2 separate regions of the Homo sapiens genome follow, and region 2 is linked to region 1. The links are contacts of gene promoters, found by promoter capture Hi-C in blood cells and fetal thymus (Javierre and others, 2016). All regions are on one chromosome and are shown on one strand. Each heading gives the region's core, a stretch centred on a gene start or on the middle of the fragment in contact. The rest is flanking DNA. Distances are from core to core; before and after follow the strand shown.

What was found. Contacts are between HindIII fragments. The CHiCAGO score rates a contact against its expected background, and 5 or more counts as called.
Region 2: a contact is called between a fragment that was not itself captured here and the fragment with the promoter of AKAP7 in region 1, in 2 of 17 cell types (M0 macrophages and M2 macrophages). The highest score is 5.6, in M0 macrophages.

Annotation. Positions count from the first base shown.
Region 1 is chr6:131,130,210-131,136,716 of GRCh38, reverse strand. AKAP7 (A-kinase anchoring protein 7) reads right to left here and starts at 1,250. Exons shown (of 8, transcript NM_016377.4): 1 at 935-1,250. The coding sequence starts at 953. It overlaps LOC102723445 (a long non-coding RNA gene), which reads left to right and starts at 6,356. Exons shown (of 4, transcript XR_428022.3): 1 at 6,356-6,507. RefSeq lists enhancers at 623-682, 1,119-1,619 and silencers at 943-1,052, 1,203-1,292. The HindIII fragment of the contact is 7,096 bases long and covers 1-2,439 here.
Region 2 is chr6:130,868,415-130,874,921 of GRCh38, reverse strand. It overlaps EPB41L2 (erythrocyte membrane protein band 4.1 like 2), which reads left to right. Exons shown (of 20, transcript NM_001431.4): 15 at 4,796-5,359. Among named protein-coding and RNA genes, the nearest start is that of SMLR1, 44 kb to the right of the region's middle. The HindIII fragment of the contact is 1,164 bases long and covers 2,521-3,684 here.

The sequences.
Region 1 (6,507 bases), core at 1-2,500:
GTTAATAGTGTCCGAAAATGGATGAAAGGAGGAAGTAACCTCCACAAACATCTTAAACTTTATGAGTAAGGAAAATATACAGATATGCTAACAGGATCCTGAATTGCAAAGCCACGGCACTTAAACAAGGAACTGGAGTATGGCTCTTTTCTCCTTAACAATTTCCATTCCCATGCATTTCCTAAATGCAAAAACTCACTGTCATCATTCACTTAACAATTGTCAACATATTCACACGATTAACTGCTATTTATATAGTACACTTTAACGTTTTTATGCTTTTTATACTCTTCTATGAGTTTATCCTATGAAACTCTTGCAGAGGAGCACCTTTTCTCTAATTGGTTTGCGGACCCTTTTACCGAAAGTCCACCCCTAACTCGCTCTATCACAAAGTTCAGTTCACAACAAACGCTGACCTAAACTGGAAATTCATTCCGGGCGCTAGTGTAGACTTGGCGCCAGTTTTAAAAGCGGTCATGTCCAAACCTGGCAGAAAATCCTAAATGAGACAGTATGGTGGTTCGGGTGCTTAATATTTGTGATATAAGATAAAATCGAAATTTTACTAGGTTTTGTTTACATTTACCCACATCAACACCGTCGGAAGGAATGTGTACTGGCATGAACTTTGTGCAAAGGGTCACAGGATGAGAAAGGGAGAAAGAAAAGTGAAACTCGGGGATGGGCTCATACCCCCGCCTCCTGTCGGACCCACAATGCGTGCATTAAAACGCTTCGCTACAGGCAGCACTGATGTACACCCCGGTTGCACCGGGCTTCTCGGTGCTACCCTGAGTCCTTTTGGGAAGGAGGGAGACTCGGAGAAGGGCCGGCGCGGGTCAGGCCCTCCCAAAGTTCGAGCGCAGAGCAGGCCCAGGCCCCCGCGGCTCCTGTCGCCCCCGCCCCGGCCCGCTGGACAGCCCGGTCTCACCCGCTTCGGGGCGCTCCATGGTCGCGGCGCATGCGGGCGGCGCGTCTGGGCTGGCGGCAGCGGCGGTGGCGGGCCGCGTCCCGGGGCTGGAGGCGAGGCCGAGGCGGAGGCCAGGGCGGGGCTCGGGGCCTGAGGGCGGTGCGCTGGGCCGGCGCGGGGTCCAGCGACAGGCTGCGGGGGCCCGGGCGGCGGAGGCCAGGCCTGCGGAAGCGCGGAGCTTCCCAAGCCGCAGCCCCCGCGGCAGCGGCAGCAGCGGCGGCGGCAGCCGCAGCAGCCGCAGCACCCGCATGCCAGGCCGGACGCCGGAACAAGCCAGAAGGGGCCGACCCGAGTCGCCGGTGGTACCCGGATTCGGGCGAGAGGCGCGGACGCGCTCGGGCAGGGCGGGGGAAACTAGGGCCGGCGACTGCGGCGTCACGGCAGCCCAGGTCGTCTCGACTCTGCAATGCGACGCTGGGTCTTCGCCTGCCTGCCGAGCCCCGCGGCCTCCGACGGCCTTTGGCAGCCCTCATTTATTTCCCGTGGCGCAGCCTTGCCCCTCCCACGCTTTCAAGGGCGAGATTGGGACTAGGATGAAAGAATTCTCTGGCCTGGTGTCTTTTGAGAATCCATGTGCTTAGTTTTGCAATCAGGGTTCTGATTGCAGAATATTTGGGAAGAGCGAAATGTACAAGAACGAGACCTTGTACTTCTGTATAATGAGATACTTTATTTACCTTACTTTTAAAAACTGCAAATTGTGACAAAGTCTCTAATTTTTAACAATGATGTTATGTTTAGACATTAAGAGGAAACCAGTTGCTGGTTCTTGTAGTATAAGGTACTGCAGTGAGTAAATTGGGAGAAAAAGAAATTTACTTAGTTTAAAAAAATAAAAACCTTTCACTTGAAACGGAATGCTATTGGGATTGGTTTTAGTGCGAAGAAACCAGGGGTTAAGAACATTAGGTGCATCCGTCCACAAATTAGCGCCTTTCGTGAATAATAACACTTCGCTTATGTTGAATGCATCGTAGAATAGGGATGGAAGAAAAGAAGACCCCTACACAGCCACAACAGCTGGCGTAAAGGCTGCACACTAGAAGTCGGCAAACTAGTTACTCTGATTTTCAAATAATTCTAACACGTTGAGTTTCTGATGCCCATTTATGGGCTGGTAGGAAAGTACAACCAGTTCCCCTAATATTTATTTAATGCTTGAGCTCTGTGCTGAGGATGTGCAGGTAAGACAGGTCTTTTACTTATGGAGCTGATCATATAATAGCAGAGAAAGAAACATAAGTAACTGCGGAAATAAAAGCTGCAAAAATGTGGTCCACATTCATAGTGAAGAGGATGAGAATATGCCACCCCAAATATGCCACTTCAGCATAAGGATTATTCTTGAGCTTAAAACAGTTCAGAAACTAAAGACTCAGGAACAACTTTGACCTCCCCCTTTCTGCCTAAAAGCAGGACATAAATTTCCCTTCGTAAAGGTGACATAAATTTTTATTTTTAAAGCTTTACCAGGCCGGGCCCAGTGGCTCACGCTTGTAACCCCAACACTTTGGGAGGTCAAGGCGAGTGGATCACTTGAGTCCAGGAGTTTGAAACCAGCCTGGGCAACATAGCAAAACCCTGTCTCTACCAAAAATACAAAAATTAACCAGACGTGGTGACCCATGCCTGTAATCCCAGCTACTCCAGAGGCTGAGGTGGGAGGATCGCTGGAGCCCAGGAGGTGGAGGTTGCAGTGAGCTGAGATGATGCCATTGCACTCCAGTGTGGACAACAGAGCCAGATCCTGTCTCAAACAAACAAACAAACAACAAAGCTTTACCACTCACCCATACCAGAAAGAGGAGAATGAGTCTTACCTGCATAACAAACCCATACATTTTCTAGTAACCTTCCCATACTGCAAAAAGGCTAAGCCCCCTTTTCCTTTGTCTAGCCTCTCCACACTTTATCATCGTTAAAATGGTATAGAAGCCCCCAGTTCTAACTGCCTCTTCGGGCTTTTAGTTCTTTCCTGTGAAGCATCTATGTGCATGTGTAATAATCCTTTTCTCGTCTTAATCTGTCTTTTGTCAATTTAATTTACACAGTCCAACCTAGTGAACTAAATGGGCAGGAGAAAGATTTTTCTTCCCCTGTGGTGTGTACCAAGAGATATATGGAAGTTTCATTCTCTTACCTAAGCAGAGGTAACAGCCCAAATGCCACATATTTTTCACCACCAGTATTATGAATACAGAGTCTTATCAACACCTACCATGTGGAGGAACATTTTAATTACCCAAGTCTGAAAAAGGAATTTTTCACAGAGCTTCTTTTAGAAATGACAGGGAGAAAGGGAAGTACAAGGTGAACCTTGGACATCTTCTTGTGCCAAAAAGCAAAGACAAATGGGGACTATCAAAAACACAAGGACTAGCGAGAAACAGCTTTCTTTGAGCAAATGGGAGATAATCTGACATCATAAAAGGATAACACCTGTAATTATTGTAACATACTGAATACAAAATCTATATACCCATAATAATACTCAAAAAATGAGGAAGAAAAACTAGTAGGCCACCATTAAAGGTGACAAGTACGCAATTCCTTAGTCTCCTTACTCTAAAAATTAAAGGGAAAGAAAGATTTACCATGACTTTTTAGAAGTAGTAGTATGGGAAAGCTGCTTTGCACAGAAGAATTTTCAATAATAAATATAGGAGACATAAAATAATTGGAAAATTACCATTTTGCCACCACAACTGATAACTGATTGATGCAAAGATCATCAATATATTCTAAAACCATTACATGAAAGGTTAATGTGGACCGAAATATTTATAAGTTGCCAAAATACTACCCCCCACAAAATACTTGGTAATTGCTCAGGAGAGAACATATTTTTACTCCATGTAAATAAACCTGGTTGTCACCACCTTTATCGTGATTAAACTCAGCATCATTAATGGTGGACAATCTGTGAAAGCTCCTGTGAAAGCTATATCATCACTGCAAGGTAGTCTTGCCATAAATATTTCACCTGAAGCTGCTAAGGCTTTAAATATAATTTTCAGATTTCCAGAAATACAGGAGATAGAGGTACAAGTAAAATAACATGATGAGGAAAGAATCAGACCAATCCAGAATGTGTGACATTCTAGAAAATAATTGGCTCAGGCTTTTCAAAATCTCGGTGGGGTGTTGTGGTCCAGGAACAGTGTGGTAGCTTAAAACTAAACCCTTCCAATCCAGTTGTTTTGGCACTGTGCCAGTGTATATTGTCCTCTGGGGAGAAAAGGGCTGTGTACTAATAGTCAGGGAGGAATGGGCAGAACATACGGAGGGAGAGGGAAGTGTGGACCAGAGGATCCATGCCCTCATGAGTCGTGCTGCAGGTGAACCTTCGTTAAAGCATTGGGCAACCTGGTTCTTTTTTGCTTTCATAAAACAAATTAATACCTATGAATTCATCTTTTTTTTTTTTTTCTGAGACGGAATCTCGCTCTGTCGCCCAGGCTGGAGTGCGGTGGCGCAATCTCGGCTCACTGCAAGCTCCGCCTCCCGGGTTCCCGCCATTCTCCCTGCTCTACTTCCCGAGTAGATGGGACCACAGGCGCCCGCCACCACGCCCGGCTAATTTTTTGTATTTTTTAGTAGAGACGGGGTTTCACTATGTTAGCCAAGATGGTCTCGATCTCCTGACCTCATGATCCGCCCGCCTCGGCCTCCCAAAGTGCTGGGATTACAGTTGTGACCCACCGCGCCTGGCCGAATTTATCTATTTAATTGATTTTCAATATTAACTGGTTCTGTCAATAACCAAACATCCTATAGGGATTTTTAAGATTTTTAAGCCTCTATGTCAGTTTGCCGATTATCTCTAACCTTAACTCATTCTCAGCACCATTTAGCAGTTATTAAATAGAGTTTGTTTCCCACATCAGTACATTGAACTGTCCTACTGCTGTCACAGGGGACCGCAGCTATGGTCAAGATCAGTAGGAACTGTCAGTGACCTCCTTTGGGGAACAGTCCCTGACCCCACCCTTCTACTTGGGTTAGGTACTCCACCTGAGGGCTTTAATACTCCTTGTGCCCGCTCTGACCATCCCTTTTGCCACATTTTTCTGTTTCATACATTAGACTTTACGCCACTAGAAGGCAAAGACTATGTTTTAAAGTCTTCGTATTCCCAAATGCATAGAGATTTCTCAATGAATAGACATTCAATGAATGAATAAAACTTTTATAAGCATCCAGATCCATTAAGTACTCAGATTTGTCAAAAAATAAAGCAGCACTCCCAGATAAATTTCAAAAAAAAAAAAAAAAAGAAAGAAAGAGAAACAATATCACGGGTAATCTTAATGTCCTACAGTTTTGTTGGCAAACAGCCTGTTGCGTGGCAAGAGTGGCGCCATCTTGAAGCAAAACCTCCATGAAGAGCAATGTCTGGCTCCTGCATGCAAAGGTGTTCTGCAGCAAGGTTTTTAAACCAAGCATCTAGCATAGACAACCCCTCATAAAGATGCTTATCTGACCTCCCCAGTGGTCATAAGTTTGAGATGGGACCAACTGCCCAAGTCTTAGAATACTTTCTGGAGGGTGGATGCGAGGATGTGTAATCTCATGGCCTCTGGAGAGTCACTTTGGTTCATAAGACCCTGTTAAATATTTCTTTCTGAAAAACTGGATTTGTCAGTCACTTTCTTCAGCCTCTCAGCTCCCACAACCCTTCAGGATAGGTTTGCATATACCTGCTCACGCCTGAACAAGCTTCTCCAGCTTAAGGCTAAAAATTAGCCAACATTAACTTTAACATCTAAATGTTTTTTCTTTTTTAAAAATTTTTTAATTTCTATTTTTTTCTTTTTTTCCCTGCAAAGCCAACTGCAAGTATAACATTAACATCTAAATCTTAATAGCTAAATGAACCTACCAACTCATGCCAAGACGCCAGTCCTTTGTGAAATTCCTCCAAAATACTTTTGGGTTTCCAAGTGGTGTCTGGCAAAACTAATCTAATGAATCATTCTAAGCTACCACCTGTTCCCAGCCCTTGCTTCACTGAGTTCCATTTGTCCAATCTTGACTCCGGAAAGTCCTCTGCCCTCGCGCACATCAGCTGCCTGCTAATTCACCTGGCCACAGTGGATTCTCCCAGTCTTCATGGTGACATCTCTTGCAAATGAAAAGAACAAGGTCAGCTGGGCACAGTGGCTCACGCTTGTAATCCCAGCACTTTGGAAGGCCGAAGCGGGTGGACAACCTGAGGTCAGGAGTTTGATACCAGCCTGACCAACATGGCAAAACCCTGTCTCTACTAACAATACAAAATTAGCCAGGCGTGGCGGCACATGCCTGTAATTCCAGCTACTCAGGAGGCTGGAGCAGAGAATCGCTCGAACTCAGGAGGCAGAGGTTGCAGAGGTGCAGTGAGCCAAGATTGTGCCTGGGCAACAAGAGTGAAACTCCATCTCAAAAAAAGAGAAAAGAACAACTTCTCCCTACACATTACACTCTGCTAAGAGTAGAGCAGGTTGAGCTGCATCACAGAAGATTTTTGGGACCTATAAGAATTACAGAATTCC
Region 2 (6,507 bases), core at 1,853-4,352, 260 kb after region 1:
CACATGGTATCATTCGATCAAATTTAAAGTGATGTCCTTGGATTTTTGCAGTAGGAAACTTTGACATTTTAGTGGAGATGTTTAAAATTATTATCATTTTTCTGGATCTCATGTTTTAGGAATGTACAGTGTAAAATATCTTGTCATAGAAGTCACATTAAAGTGATGTTAATGTGAAATTTAAATCTGGAAAAGCCCCCAAGTGGTTTATCTGTACTTGAAGTTACTTGTTTTTCTGTTCTTTTCCTCTCCAATACATGCAGGAAAATACATACTTTTTTGACATTCATATAGATTGTTCTTATTACAATCATCCATTCATCCGTTTGCCCAACAAACATTTATTGACCACCTACATTGTATCTTTTTTGTTTTTCTTTAAATAACATACTACTATTAGTTGAAAGTATGTGAGCATTTGTCTACGGGAGTGTTTTGACTTTACCAGAGTACCTTTTCAATTTCTGTCTTTGTTGTATCTTCATTTTACTGTTAATTCTGCAGGGGTTCTCGTTTATCTTTGAATTGTAATTCTTATTGAAAGTAAAATAAAAAAATTATGCATAAGTATATAATTTGACCACTTTTCCAAATTTCTATAATATGGGCTTTTATAGCTTTTTAAAAAAGCAGGAATAGTTTCTTTTTAAAAAAAAAAAATACATTGCATTTTCAAAGTGGCTGTAGTTTGAACAATTTTGAGAGTAGAGCAGAAAATTGGAAACCAAGTCATTTAATCTTTAATGGGTAAATAACTCTATTGTAATCCTCTTAACGTGTTGTATGAATTATGATGACTTAAATTTGCATAGACTATTCTCTCCTGAGTCTAAGAGATTATGTACATTGAGTTGTAAGGTACTTTTGAAGGTATGTCATTGGATAACGAAATGTGTGGCACTTCTTTAAATTCCCCAGTGATCTCTCACTGGGAAGGGCATCCCACCCACCCCCACTTCCCCAAGGGACGATGTAATCATAGAGATGGTAATGAAGTTAAGTCAGTCCAAAAGCTTTTTCCTCTGCTGAATATTGCAAGTGCCTACTCCCCTCACCCTCCTCACCTCACTTTCTGCGCTCCTCACCCTTCTTAGCTCACAGTATGAAGGGGCCCCTTAGGAGCGTCATTGATTTTTCTTTAAGATTTCTGAATAGTGACTGGGTGCGGTGGCTCACGCCTGTATTCCCAGCACTTTGGGAGGCCGAGGAGGATAGATCACCTGAAGTCAGGAGTTAGAGACCAGCCTGGCCAACATGGCAAAACCCCGTCTCTACTAAAAATATAAAAATTAGCTGGGCATGGTGCTGCACGCCTATAATCCCAGCTACTGGGGAGGCTGAGGCAGGAAAATCACTTAAACCTGGGAGGTAGAGGTTGCAGTGAGCCGAGATCGCGGCACACTGCACTCCAGCCTGAGTGACAGAGCGAGACTCCGTCTCAAAAAAAAAAAAAAACCTGAATAGTGGGGTTTATTAGGAATTATTCTCACACTTCTGACATGAGGGGGTGCTTCATGATGACTCTTGAATATTGACATTTCAAGTTTCTAAGGACAGTTCTGCTGTCCCTCAGGCAGGTTGGGAGCCATTGTTTAAGAGCCAGACACAGCAAAGTTAAATTTGCTTTAATGGTTTAATTTAGGGAGAAATAATTTTCACGTTGCTCATTGAGCTTTCAACTCTGAGTTTGTCTTCCTATTTTGAATTGTTTTTCTTTACCTGTTTCTTTTTGCAAAAAAAGGGGACAGGGTAATTTACTCTGTGGCATATTTAGCACGCCTGAGGGAATGAATGTGGGCTGCTGTCAGAATGTTTGTTGTACAGAGAGTTAAGGTGGTATTGAGGAGGGAGATTGTAGGAGTTGGAGTGGTGAGGGAAGGCCTTACAGAAAATGCAGACTATGAAGTGGGCCTCAGGGAGGTTAGAAAACTGGAAAGGCCCAGAATGTGCAGATAAGGGCAAAGAAGGGCCTTGGAGGCAGGAGAGGGAGGACTGCCCAAGCTGTAACACAGGAATAAGCATTTCAAGTGTAGGGGCCACTGAAGAGGCCATTCCGTGCAGAGAAAGGCCAAGGAACTACCTCAAGAATATATGAAATGGCGTTTGGGTGGGTCGGTTGTGCTCAGTTGGTGATCAGCCAAGCAGTTTTCACTGGTTTCTGGAGGTCGCAACTATCAAAGATTCTCAAGCAGGGTGGAAAAGCTGGCGCTCACAAACCTCTTCATAAGCCTGCTCCAGAATCTGTCAGAATTCTCATCTTTTCTTTCATTTTATGCTGTTCTGTTGTTCTTTCTTGTGTAACCTTTCCTTTCTTCCAATAGGTCACTGCTGTCTGTTCTGACTTATTGCTAATTCTTTGCTCTTCCTTTTCTGACCTCTCTAGAGCCTAGAAGAGGAGATAACATCAATTTTGTTTAGTGAAAAGGGCTTTTCTGATAGCATGAAAGCCACCTTCACTTCAGCCACCACTTGGACAGCAGAGGGCGCTGTTGTGAGCGCTAATGCACCTTCTGAAAAGCTTTCTTCCTCGCCCTTCTCACACTTGCTTGAGGTGCATTTTACTTTGTTTCCCCTGTTACTAAAAGCCACATATGAGAGAGATTTTCATTTTTTTAAATATTCAGGCACCATTCCCTCCAGTGCTTTCATTGGTGAAATTAATTCTTCCTGGGAGAAACATTCAAGAAACAATGACTGAATTGGAACATGAAGAAAAGATATAGATTGGATGTTTCTCCTGCTTCTTTGGTCAAAGAAAAAAAAAATCTGCCTAAATTCAGAGAATAATTTAAATCATTAAGTTCCAGAGTCTGGGCTGTTAAGCAGAGGGAAACCCTCAACCAGATATGCTTTGCAGAGTTGACATTTTCAAAACCCCAAATTTCAGGCATCCTCTGATGGCATGTTATTTTTAAAATTCTGTTTATATGGAAAAAATCTGAAGTGCCTCCCATGCTCCATGACATAATTGCTTTTGAATGACCCTAAGGAATTCCCTGAACTTGGGCAGAACCTATCCAGCTAATTGAGGTTAAGATATAACAATAATAATAATTCACTGATCTATAATAATAATGAAATGTGTGTTTCAGAAATGTTCTGGTCACTGGATATGTTTATTATATGTAGTCATGGTTAAATTTTACCTGCTTATCAAAATAGATTGAGAGTTTTTTCAGTTTAATATCTAGAAACCTCTGAGTTTTCAATAAAACTGGAAAGATAGCTGTCTTCTGTTAGTAATGTGATTTACATGGTATTAATTTGGGTCAATGAAACCATGCCCTTACCATGTGTTTAAGAATAATAGGGCAGGTCCAAGAGAGTTTGTGAGTAGACGTTGACAGTGCTGCAGAGACGTGTGTGTGTGATGTTAGGATCTTCAGCTCATGGTTGTCCAAGTGTCTGGGAGAGATGAACTCAGCCCTGCTGTCTATTAGAGGCTCCAGTCCAGTTAGTACCTTGGCAGCTTCACAACAATATCCAGAGGGCTCAGTGGTGTGGTGCCCTTCTCCATCCAGAATGGAGTCACTTTCGTGAATAAATAGGGCTCCTGGCTCTAGCTGAATTATTTTTAAGTTAGATCATAGGCAGTAGTACCACCTAGAAGTCAAAAAGTTGGCCATGCTTGAGTTATATCATTGTAAAGCAGACTTTTTGTAAGTGTGAGAAAAATGTGAAGCTTTAAAAACCCCTCTGTACAAAAAGGTTTCCACCCTAGTTAATAATATCATAACATAGTAATTTGTTCCTAATGTATTAAGTCAACAGATATTTATTGAACATTTAGGTGCTATATTACTCAACTGGAGTAAATTACTTTACTCCCAAGAAGTAGATGTCTGAAGGGGATAGGAGTGAACATGTCAAATAATAAACTTGACTGAGTTTAGATTTCAAAGATGCTAGTAGAGGAGCTAAATTGTAAAAGGAAACACTTGGAGTCACCATTGACACCCACCCTATTGTATAATATAGCCTTTGCCAACCTATGATACGAATTGGAAAGTTAATAACCATTTCTGGAATGAACATTTTCATGTTAATAGCCTTCTGAGGCTAACTATAATTTTGCCAATTAAAACTTTTTTTTTTTTTTTAAAGAAAACCAGCAAAAAATAAAAGTGCCATCTCCTTGGTGCTGTGTTCATTTAAGAATCAGCGTTCCAGGCTAGACTTTATAGTCTGATTAAAACCAAAACTGTTACTAGGTTTTAAAAGTTAAATTTTTTTCTTTAAAATGATGAGTCAGCTTTGGTATAATTCAATTTTTGTAAACTGTTTTAACTACATAGGTAGAGCTTATAGGTATATCTATAATAAAAGCATTTTACTTCTTTGGGAGGATGCTGGCTGTTTTTGTGTCTTTTTGTAAGCTTTTTGGCATTTGTCTTGATTGTCCTCTATGTGACCTTGAGCAGAGGTTTCTGTAGATGTTGATTCTTGCTGTTTTGTCTTTGCAGTGTCAGATGTTTGTTTCAGTGGTTGTTGAGGTAAAACTGTATTGATTTTGTGTCCTCGGTTGCTTTTTGTTCTGCAGACACGTGCTCCCGAGTCAGAAGGGCCTTGCACTGGAGCCAGGGATGCTGTTAAGGTTCTCCCCTTTTTCCATGTTAACACCATTGCCTCACGTTTCTCATTGCCCTCACGTTTGCCCCGCTTCCCTTTCAGTCAGCCATCATAATCATCTTTGTTTTTCTCCATGACATGAATCTGCCATCGGTTAATTTGGGTTTCCGTTGTTTTTATTTATTCATATATTTTTGTTTTCCCTCATCCATCTTTTTTTGTACAGAGTTCACATGAGACTCTGAATATAGTGGAGGAGAAGAAGCGGGCAGAGGTTGGGAAAGACGAAAGAGTAATCACAGAAGAAATGAATGGTAAAGAGATATCACCTGGGAGTGGTCCTGGGGAGATTCGTAAGGTGGAGCCTGTGACACAAAAAGACTCCACCTCCCTGTCTTCTGAGAGCAGCAGCAGCAGCAGTGAGAGTGAGGAGGAAGACGTGGGAGAGTACCGTCCCCACCACCGAGTGACCGAGGGCACCATCAGGGAGGAACAGGAGTATGAAGAAGAGGTGGAGGAAGAACCCCGCCCGGCAGCCAAGGTAGTAGAGAGGGAGGAAGCAGTGCCCGAAGCCAGCCCAGTCACACAAGCAGGTGCCAGTGTAATCACAGTAGAAACAGTGATCCAGGAAAATGTAGGTGCCCAAAAGATACCCGGAGAGAAGAGTGTACACGAAGGCGCTCTTAAGCAAGACATGGGAGAAGAAGCAGAGGAAGAGCCACAGAAAGTTAACGGAGAGGTGTCCCATGTTGACATTGATGTTTTGCCACAAATTATTTGTTGTTCAGAGGTAAATGGGAGTCCCAGGTGGGAGCCAAACTCTAGAGCTGCTTCTCAGATGGGGAACTCCTGCCTTTCTTCTCCTGTCCTCCCAGTTCTTCAGCTTTTTTCAACAAGAATCTGATTTTTCTCTCTCATGGGAGGAAGGGGGAAGCACTGCTTTGTGGATTTTCTGCCCGCCCAGTTCATGGGTTCCAGCTTCTCTGCGGCCACTGGACACCTGTAGGGTAAACTTTCCTAGAAGCACCACATCAATTTTTCCTTCCCTTTTCACATTTAAATTTTTCTTTGCATGTTTTGGGTGTTTTCAACTGTTTTGTCTTCAGTTGCACTGCTTCCTCACACTAAATGCCTTTTTTTCCCCTTTTGGTTTAATTAGAAAAATGTATATGTAATGTTGAAAAAAAAAATGGTCACTGCTGAGTGTGTGTGCCCCTGATGTCATGATTGGGTTTGACTTCTTGGCTCATTCTTCAGCTTCAGAGTTTTAGAAATGACAGCAGTCTCTGATTACCGTGGTTCTCTGAATGCAGTATCCAGCAGTGATGAGAATGTTATTTCTTGAATGCCACTGTGATTTCTGTTTTGGGATTGCAGGGGTTGTATGGTTTTGTTAAGAGCCTTTCTTTTCTTCCAGGCAGCCAGAGGCTAGGCTATTTGATAGGAGGATATCCTCGCTTCTCATTCTATCCTGATGTCAATTCTGGAGTATTTGCCAGATGATTATATGTTTTGTGGATTATCTATACATTGGACATGAATCTTTTTCTTTTCAAAGAAGAGAACTTTTTGGTCACTAAGTGCAGTGTCTCTCATTTGGGAGTTAGGCTGAGGGAGGGTTTATTTCCTTGGGAATATTTCTTGATTTTAATATTAAATGCCCACAGTACAGAGATTTATTTTGTTCTCTTCGATGGGATGGAAAATGTTGAAGTGACTTTGTCTTAAAATAATTAAGTGGATTTTAACCATGTTACTTTTAAACTTCTGTTTCACTTTAGAGAAGATTTTTCAAGAGTCTTTGAACACTTTGAACTATTCTGTATTTAACATATCGTTACTCCTCTTTAAATAATTATGCCTGTTGAGAATGTTCTCTCAAAGAAAGTACTGCAGTATTTTGGTAGTAGTATAGTCTGGTGTTGCATTAATATTAAG